2 separate regions of the Homo sapiens genome follow, and region 1 is linked to region 2. Evidence: promoter capture Hi-C in 16 types of primary human blood cells and fetal thymus (Javierre and others, 2016). All regions are on one chromosome and are shown on one strand. The core of a region is centred on a gene start or on the middle of the fragment in contact, and the rest is flanking DNA. Distances in the headings are between cores, read along the strand shown.

Region 1 (4,069 bases), core at 1,570-4,069, 1.1 Mb before region 2:
CTCCCTGTGTCCCTCTAGACTAGGGATGGTAGCAGCTTCCTGCAATTTCTAATCTCTGGGTTGCCTCACCCTCCCCTGACGGCTTCCCAGCCTTTTTTTTTTTTACCTGGGTAACCAATTCCCTATGTTACACTCCCTTTGTTTTAAATACTCAGAGTCATTTCTGTCTGTTAGTTGACTGCAATAAACTCTGATAGGGCAGAAACAGCCTAGATTTGTAAGGCTATATGACCGTGACCTTGGGCAGATAATTTAATTTTTCAGTTTCTTTTTGTAAAATAGGGCTAATGGTATCTATCCCAGGGGCTGGCAAATTTATGAAAAGAGTTGACATTAGTGAGGCACCTGGTTCATTGCCTTGTTCATTTTAAGAACACAATTAAAATTATTTCACTCCCTTCTTTTTCCCTGGCAATCTGACTGTGGTGAATTAGAAGCCAGTGAGTTAAGGTTTGAGGGTTTCATTTTCTAAGGCTGTAAACATTAGAACAGAAGAATTTAGTATTTTACTTTCCCTAAAGTACAAAGGAACCTTATCAGGTTCATCTGATTAAGTTTTTGTTTAGTACTTTGTCTATCTCATGACTGTGTATTATATATTATTCTCACATCTTCGTATAACACTCAAGGAGATAAACTACATGGGGGTTAAAGAATTCATTTTCCCAACAAACTACAGCAATTTGGTTACAAGGATGACTTATATTTGCAATTCCCATGCTTTAAAACATGTTGAAAGGGTGTGTGTGTGTGTGTGTGTGTGCACGCGTGTCTGTGCTGGTAGCTGTGACGGTTAACAGATAAAACAAGATTAGGACAATGTTGACAATTATTGACACCAATGATTGGTATATGAAGAGGTCATTATACTTATTTATTTATTTATTCATTTATTTATTGAGACGGAGTCTTGCTCTGTCGCCCGGGCTGGAGTGCAGTGGTGCAATCTCGGCTTACTGCAAGCTCCGCCTCGCGGGTTCACGCCATTCTCCTGCCTCAGCCTCCTGAGTAGCTGGAATTACAGGCGCCTGCCACCACGCCCAGCTAATTTTTTTGTATTTTTAGTAGAGATGGGGTTTCACCATCTTGGCCAGGCTGGTCTTGAACTCCTGACCTTGTGATCCATCCGCCTCAGCCTCCCAAAGTGCTGGGATTACAGGCGTGAGCCAACCGCACCCAGCCTCATTATACTCTTCTCTTATTCTGTGTACTAATGCTTAATATATATTAAGGATTAACTGCATAGCTGTAATTCTGAAATCCCTCTGTTTTCACTGAACCCCAAGTGTTCGTTTTTTCTAACATTTTAAGATTTCAGTGGACATGACAAGATGACACTGTAAAGGTACAGGCCCTTTGTGTCCAATTTTCAGAGGTGGCATCTATTGCCTGTCATAGATTAGCTCCTGGGATTCACCTGAAGTAAGGCTGGATGAGTTTTTCTTAAGTCAAAGGGGGTATCATGAGAATTTAAATAGTTGCTTTGTTGCCACAGCAGTTGTCATGAGAATGAACTTGTAGTTTTATCTATGAGAAATGCAAGAGGAGGCCAGGCACAGACCACTGCACGATTTTTTTGTGTCCACCGCACTCTGCACAAAACTGACACACAGCAGGTGGACAATAAACAACTGTGAACATCTTTGAGCTTTACCAAATTTATTCTTATGTTCTATGAGTTTCCTACAACCAAAACAAATTTCATACATTTTTAGGAAACTATAACTTTAGACCTTTTTCTTCCTGAGTTAACTGACTTTTCCATCTGAGGAGATAACTTACATGAACAGTGTTTATTGGATGGAACTGTTCTTGCATTTTTCTTAACTGGAAGACATCTGATATACTTCCCCCTGCCCCCCGCCTTTATGGTGGCTGTAAAGCTTTCTGGGTATGTTTTCATGAAAGGAAAATGAGACAACTCAAAGAACAGAACTTTAGTATCTGTTAATATGATTTTCATCTTAAAAATACCTCAAGGGGGAAAAATGATGTACTACTTAGAGTAGTTTTGTATCTGCTGAGACAATCTAGTCAGAACTAATTACCCACCTATCCACATGGAATCTCACATGACCCCCCACTGTTCCCACCCCCAGAAGGCTATAGCATTCTTTAAAAGGCACCTGTAGAATATAATTAACCTTCTGGGAAGTGCCAAAACTGATTTAAAGAAAGATATTATCAGATGCTACTCTTGGTTTAAAAGGCTTATACACAATGGGGCGCGAACTAATTCAAAGACTGTCAGCTGAAAGAGAAAGGCTGTATTTGACCTCTATGTTTCCATTACCCTAAAGTCTATGCCCTTTTTGCAGGCCCTGTTATTTGCCTTCCTTAGTTCTAAAATTCACTGTGAGCAAGTGATCTGTCCTGCCATGGAAGGCTTGCAACATTCTTCCCAGGCTGGCAGCAATGATGGGGCCTCCCAAATGACTGGGCTCCTTGATCATGCTGTCACTAGGTCTATGGATCTAATTAGGCTAAGAAACACCTTTAATTAACATAGTCTAATAGAATCAACTGATGATTCAGGAATGTGATGACTGGTGTGGGCCAAATTAACCTTCGTTCATGCTTGATCATTACATAGCTCATAGATGTTCTTCAAATTTAGCTCTGCAGAGTTGTGTGGTGTGTGTGTGTGTGTGTGTGTTTACTACAACCACATTTTTCAGAAGATAAAGTCAATAGGATTGATGGCATTCAATGTGGAAATATACATTGCAACGTTTCACTGACTAGCTTTATAGGTGGCATGCTGTTAAACGAACACATCTGAGACATGTCTTTTAATTATTTCATTTTATTCTGCCTAAATTTTGAAAGTTAGATCATTTATAACCTTTTCAGTACTTAAAGGATTCCACAAAGATATTTTAATTATAGGATTTACCTGAAGTATTCTGAGATGTCTGTGTATATACCGATATCTGTGTTTATATCTGTAGATATATATGCATATAAATCTGTCTATATATGTATTATACATGCATGTGTACATACAGACAGACATCTGTATTTATATCTGTAGATACATACACACATAAATCTAGATGTCTACATATGTATTATACATGCATGTGTGTATTATATATAAATATGCACATATATGTATATTGGATTGTATATGTTTGTATGTGTGTATGTATATGTGTGTGTGTGTGTGTATGTGTGTGTGTGTGTGTTATAAACTGGCTCCATGGACCTTTGGGGGATTTATGGGTGGTCTTTTGGAAATCTCTGAACTCCCTGAAGCTATATTGGAAACTGCATTTTGTGTATGTTTGTATGTATTTTGTTGTGGGAAAGCAGTCCATAAATCCCATTTGATTCTCAAAATTGTCTGTGACCACCCACCTATCACCAAAGGAAAAAAAGAAAGTTTAGGAGTCCATGGTCTAGCGCTATACTGTCCATTACTATAGCCCCTAGCTGCTTGTGGCTACTGAACACTCTTGAAATGTGGCAAGTGTGAATTGAGATGTGCTGTTAATGTAAATATACATTGGATTTTGAAGAATTAGTATAAAAAAGAATGTAAAATATCTCAATGGCTTATACACTGATTACATGATGAAATAATAATATGTGGGATATAGTAGGTTAAGTAAAATATATCAATTAGCACAAATTTCACCTGCTTTTTGTTGTGATGTTGTTGTTAAAGTGGCTCCTTGGAAATCTGAAATTGCAGACGTGGCTCACATTATGTTTCTATTGAATAGCACTGGTTTGGGCAAAGCTAAAGCTTGATCACAGGCATGTAGCTGGTTCTAGGAAGTTCCTACTAGCAAAAAGTTTTCATGGTAGTACCAAAATGGGATTCTAAGAGAGGTTTTAGCAAAAACATCAGACTGTGACTAAACAAAACAGGGTTAAAAGCATAGATTCAAACTACTTTCATCCAAGTAACCCAGCAGAGTTTCCTTGAGAGAATCATGAGTCTGGAAGGAGAATTTTGATGTCAACTCTGAACTACTGCTATCCATATTTGCAGATAAGGTACATGGTACATTTTGATAAGAACCTTAGGCCAATAATGACTCAAAGCAAATTGATGTGGTTT
Region 2 (3,660 bases), core at 754-3,253:
GACAGTTTGAATATTAACAAGTATGTGAATGCAAAAATTTTTTTTATTTTTTATTTTTTAAAAATTTTTTTATTTTTATTTTTATTTTTTTTTCGAGACGGACTCTCGCTCCGTCGCCCAGGCTGGAGTGCAGTGGTGCGATATCAGGTCACTGCAAGCTCCGCCTCCCAGGTTCACGCCATTCTCCTGCTTCAGCCTCCCGAGTAGCTGGGACTACAGGCGCCCGAAACCACGCCCGGCTAATTTTTTTGTATTTTTAGTAGAGACGGGGTTTCACTGTGTTAGCCAGGATGGTCTTGATCTCTTGACCTCGTGATCCGCCCACCTCGGCCTCCCAAAGTGCTGGGATTACAGGCGTGAGCCACCGCGCCCGGCCGTGAATGCAAAAAATTTAAGCACAAATATAGAAAAATCTATGCATTCATACTACACTAAAAAAAATAACAAACCTATATATCTCAGTCATCTTTGGAAGTTTCTGGGATGTTGTGATCCACATTCGGATTCCCTTTTAGGAATGAACAATTGCCTCTGCTGAAGACAGCTGCTTTGCCCAACACCATGCCCCATTCTAGGAGCAGCCCACAACCAGTGGCCATCCAACATGCAGGTGGAAAGGTCTGTTCTCCTCACTCCTATTGGAAAGCAGCTCTGAAGCACCATACTAGTTTGAGAACTGTCATTCATAAGATGGCAACAAAATTCAGCTTCTCCTCTGCACAATCCTGCTTCCTTCATTTGCCTTTGATTACAAGAGCACTCTGTAATAAAATGCCATCTAGTCAATTTCCAGTACTGCCCATTCTCTAAGTTTAAATCACAAAGATAACTTTAAGTAATATTTTCAAAAAATCCCATGGGCACATCCAGACTATGTAATTTTAATCATCAGGAATCTACGAGAAAGGAAATACAACATATGATTACAAACACTCTTTAGTGCCAGATATGCTTAACACCAACATCTGTGTGACCACAGTAACACCGAGTGATAATAAACTAATATTACAATTAATAACCAAACAATTGTCTAAGCAGCACTTTTTAAAACATGGATCATCCTAAAAGCATCGCGTAAGGTTGACAGTAGCACCTTTGGCTTGGGAAAGTTTCAAAAACTGTTTAAGTTTGGGATTCAGCCACATTACCAACACACACACATACACACAATTTCTCTGGAATACGGGGGAGTGAATCAAGTTATACCAACGATTCCATTTGAATCAGCACTAACAGGATTATCACAGACCTGGGTAATAAAAATAAACTTTCTTCACTTCTCACCCAAACATGAATTCCTGCAAACTTGAGGTGAACTGGAAAATGACTTTTGGAAAGCTAACACGCTTTTATGGAGATGCAGAATGTTATTTTACCACACAATTAAACCAAACGGGGGTATGGACTGAAAGTTCATTAGTCGTGGTAAAATAATTTAGCGAATCGAGGTCAGTATTAAAAAAAAAAGATCTGCAAAGATGTTTTCAGTGTTTCACTATTGTTTTACATGTTTGCATAGGTATGTGGTGTACGTGTGAGTACACGGGGCCTCACATAAAATGTATTTCTTTCTTTGCATCGGGGTAAAAGGTGTTTGAAAATGTCTCAGGTTCTGCTCCCCAAAGCCTGCAGCACAGGCGGCGGCGGTGAGGTCGCCGATCCCCAGCGGGGCGCCCCTCCCCTGCCTCGCGGTACTTACGAAGGAGTCGCTCACGACCAGCACCACATTGGGCGCTTTGGCTGCTCTCCGCCTCTGCTCCCCTGCTCCGGGGGCCAGTACCGCCAGCGCCAAGGCTGCGACCACCGACACCCACAGCAGTAGCATCGCCGGTAGCGGTTCTGAGAGCCTGCCGCCGGGCCAGCCGCCTCCCTCTGGCGTTCTCTCCCTAGCAGAGCAGGGCAGGGACAGCGAACAACTCCCAAAGCTTGCAGTTTGGTTGCTTGATAGTAACGCCGAGCTTCACCCGCAGAACTACAACTCCTATCAGGCGGAGAGCGCGCACATGCGCAACAGAGAAATTCCCGCTTTTACCCACGTTAAGACCTTTTAATCAAATACCGAGCAAATCAGAACCCAGCCACTTCCAGTCACGTGAATGAGTCCTGGGAAAGGCGCATGCGCTCTCATTGCAGCCTCGGCGTTTGTAGAAGAGGAGCATCTGCTCCAGGTGGGTTTGGATTTCTGTCGGTTTTGCACAAGGGATCCTAAAGGCGATTGAAATGGTACTTAGAGAAAGAAAGGATCGGGGCCGGGGCTGTTCATTTTGGGCCGCGCAAGCGTGGCTGAGTGTTCGGCGAGAGCGTGAACTGGGCGGCGATGAGGTGGCGGCGCGGCTGTCACTTAAGTTGAATAGGGCGGTGCCTTGTGGGGCCTCTGGGTGGACCGCCTCAGGTGCGCCGTGAATGCCTTAGACCCCCCCGAATACCTTCCCAGGGAAATCTCTAGCCTGTCTCATCTTATTGCTTCTCTTACCCCGTGCAGTCAGGATTTACTGTGCTCCCATGGGGCGAGGAGCGGGGCCTAGTAAGAAGTTTCAGGCTGTAGGCAGGGGAAAGCATAGCTGTTCCTTGCCTTCAGAGAGCAAAGGAGATAAGCGAAACTGGAGGGGGAAATGGGCTGTGTGACATGTTCAGTTAGTTGACGTAGGTTCAGAATATCATTGTTTTGCTGCAGAATAAAAACCGGTCTCTTTTGACTGTTGAATTCCTTTGGAGAGTTCTGGAAGAAGCAGATTTCTGTCCCAAAGCCAAATTCCAATTTCTGTATCTAGTTTCGGGTATATAATTTGCACATCACACTAGTAGTTTTAATATTCTGACAGTTAAAAGAGGAGTTATACTACTTACTTAAGTCAACTGAATACTAATATCTGGCAGGTTTTTTTTTGCCTAAGATAATTGTAGTAAGGAACAGATTTGTTTATTTAATACTCACATGGCACTTAGGTGCTGAGCGTTATACTAAGCATTTACTGAGCATCTGCTGCGTGCCACGTACTTTTATATGGAATATTTTCTATAATCCTCACTTTCACCATATTGCAGATAGGAAAACAGGCTTAGAGAGGTTAAATGACTGGCCTGAGTTTACACAGGGAGCCAGTCAGAGCACGACTGAAAATTGAAGAGTCTGTGCCGTAACTCACTAAATGCTCTGTCTGCAGTTAGTTTATCTGTTAGTGTAGCAGAATTGTTACTCAAGCAGCATGATAAAGATCTGCGGGAGCATGCAAAAACGTAAACAGTGTTGGGCGCGGTGGCTCACGCCTGTAATCCCAGCACTTTGGGAAGCCGAGACGGGCGGATCACCGAAGGTTAGGGGTTCGAGACCAGCCTGGCCAGCATGGTGAAACCCCGTCTCTACGAAAAATACGCAAAATACTGGGCGTGGTGGCGGGCGCCTGTAATCCCAGCTACTAGGGAGGCTGAGGCAGGAGAATCACTTGAACCCAGGAGGTGGAGGTTGCAGTGAGCTGAGATCGCACCTTTGCACTCCGCCTGGGCAACAAGAGCAAAACTCCATCTCAAAAAAAAAACAAAAACAAAAAAACCCCTAAACAATAGTCTCAGTTTACATGAGTTTAGATTTCAGGGAAGCAAAACCAAGCATACATGAAATAATAATACAGCACGGAAGGTAATACAAGTGGGCTCTCTCAT

Evidence for each region. The method cuts DNA at HindIII sites, captures the fragments that hold promoters and counts their contacts. A CHiCAGO score of 5 or more calls a contact.
Region 1: a contact is called between a fragment that was not itself captured here and the fragment with the promoter of ARSK in region 2, in 1 of 17 cell types (non-activated CD4 T cells). The highest score is 5.9, in non-activated CD4 T cells.

Annotation. Positions count from the first base shown.
Region 1 is chr5:96,664,845-96,668,913 of GRCh38, reverse strand. The region is part of intron 1 of CAST (calpastatin); the gene reads right to left. Among named protein-coding and RNA genes, the nearest start is that of CAST, 4.5 kb to the right of the region's middle. The HindIII fragment of the contact is 1,868 bases long and covers 1,886-3,753 here.
Region 2 is chr5:95,553,444-95,557,103 of GRCh38, reverse strand. ARSK (arylsulfatase family member K) reads right to left here and starts at 2,003. Exons shown (of 8, transcript NM_198150.3): 1 at 1,700-2,003. The coding sequence starts at 1,825. It overlaps SKIC3 (SKI3 subunit of superkiller complex), which reads left to right and starts at 2,127. Exons shown (of 43, transcript NM_014639.4): 1 at 2,127-2,168. The HindIII fragment of the contact is 6,579 bases long and covers 1,928-3,660 here.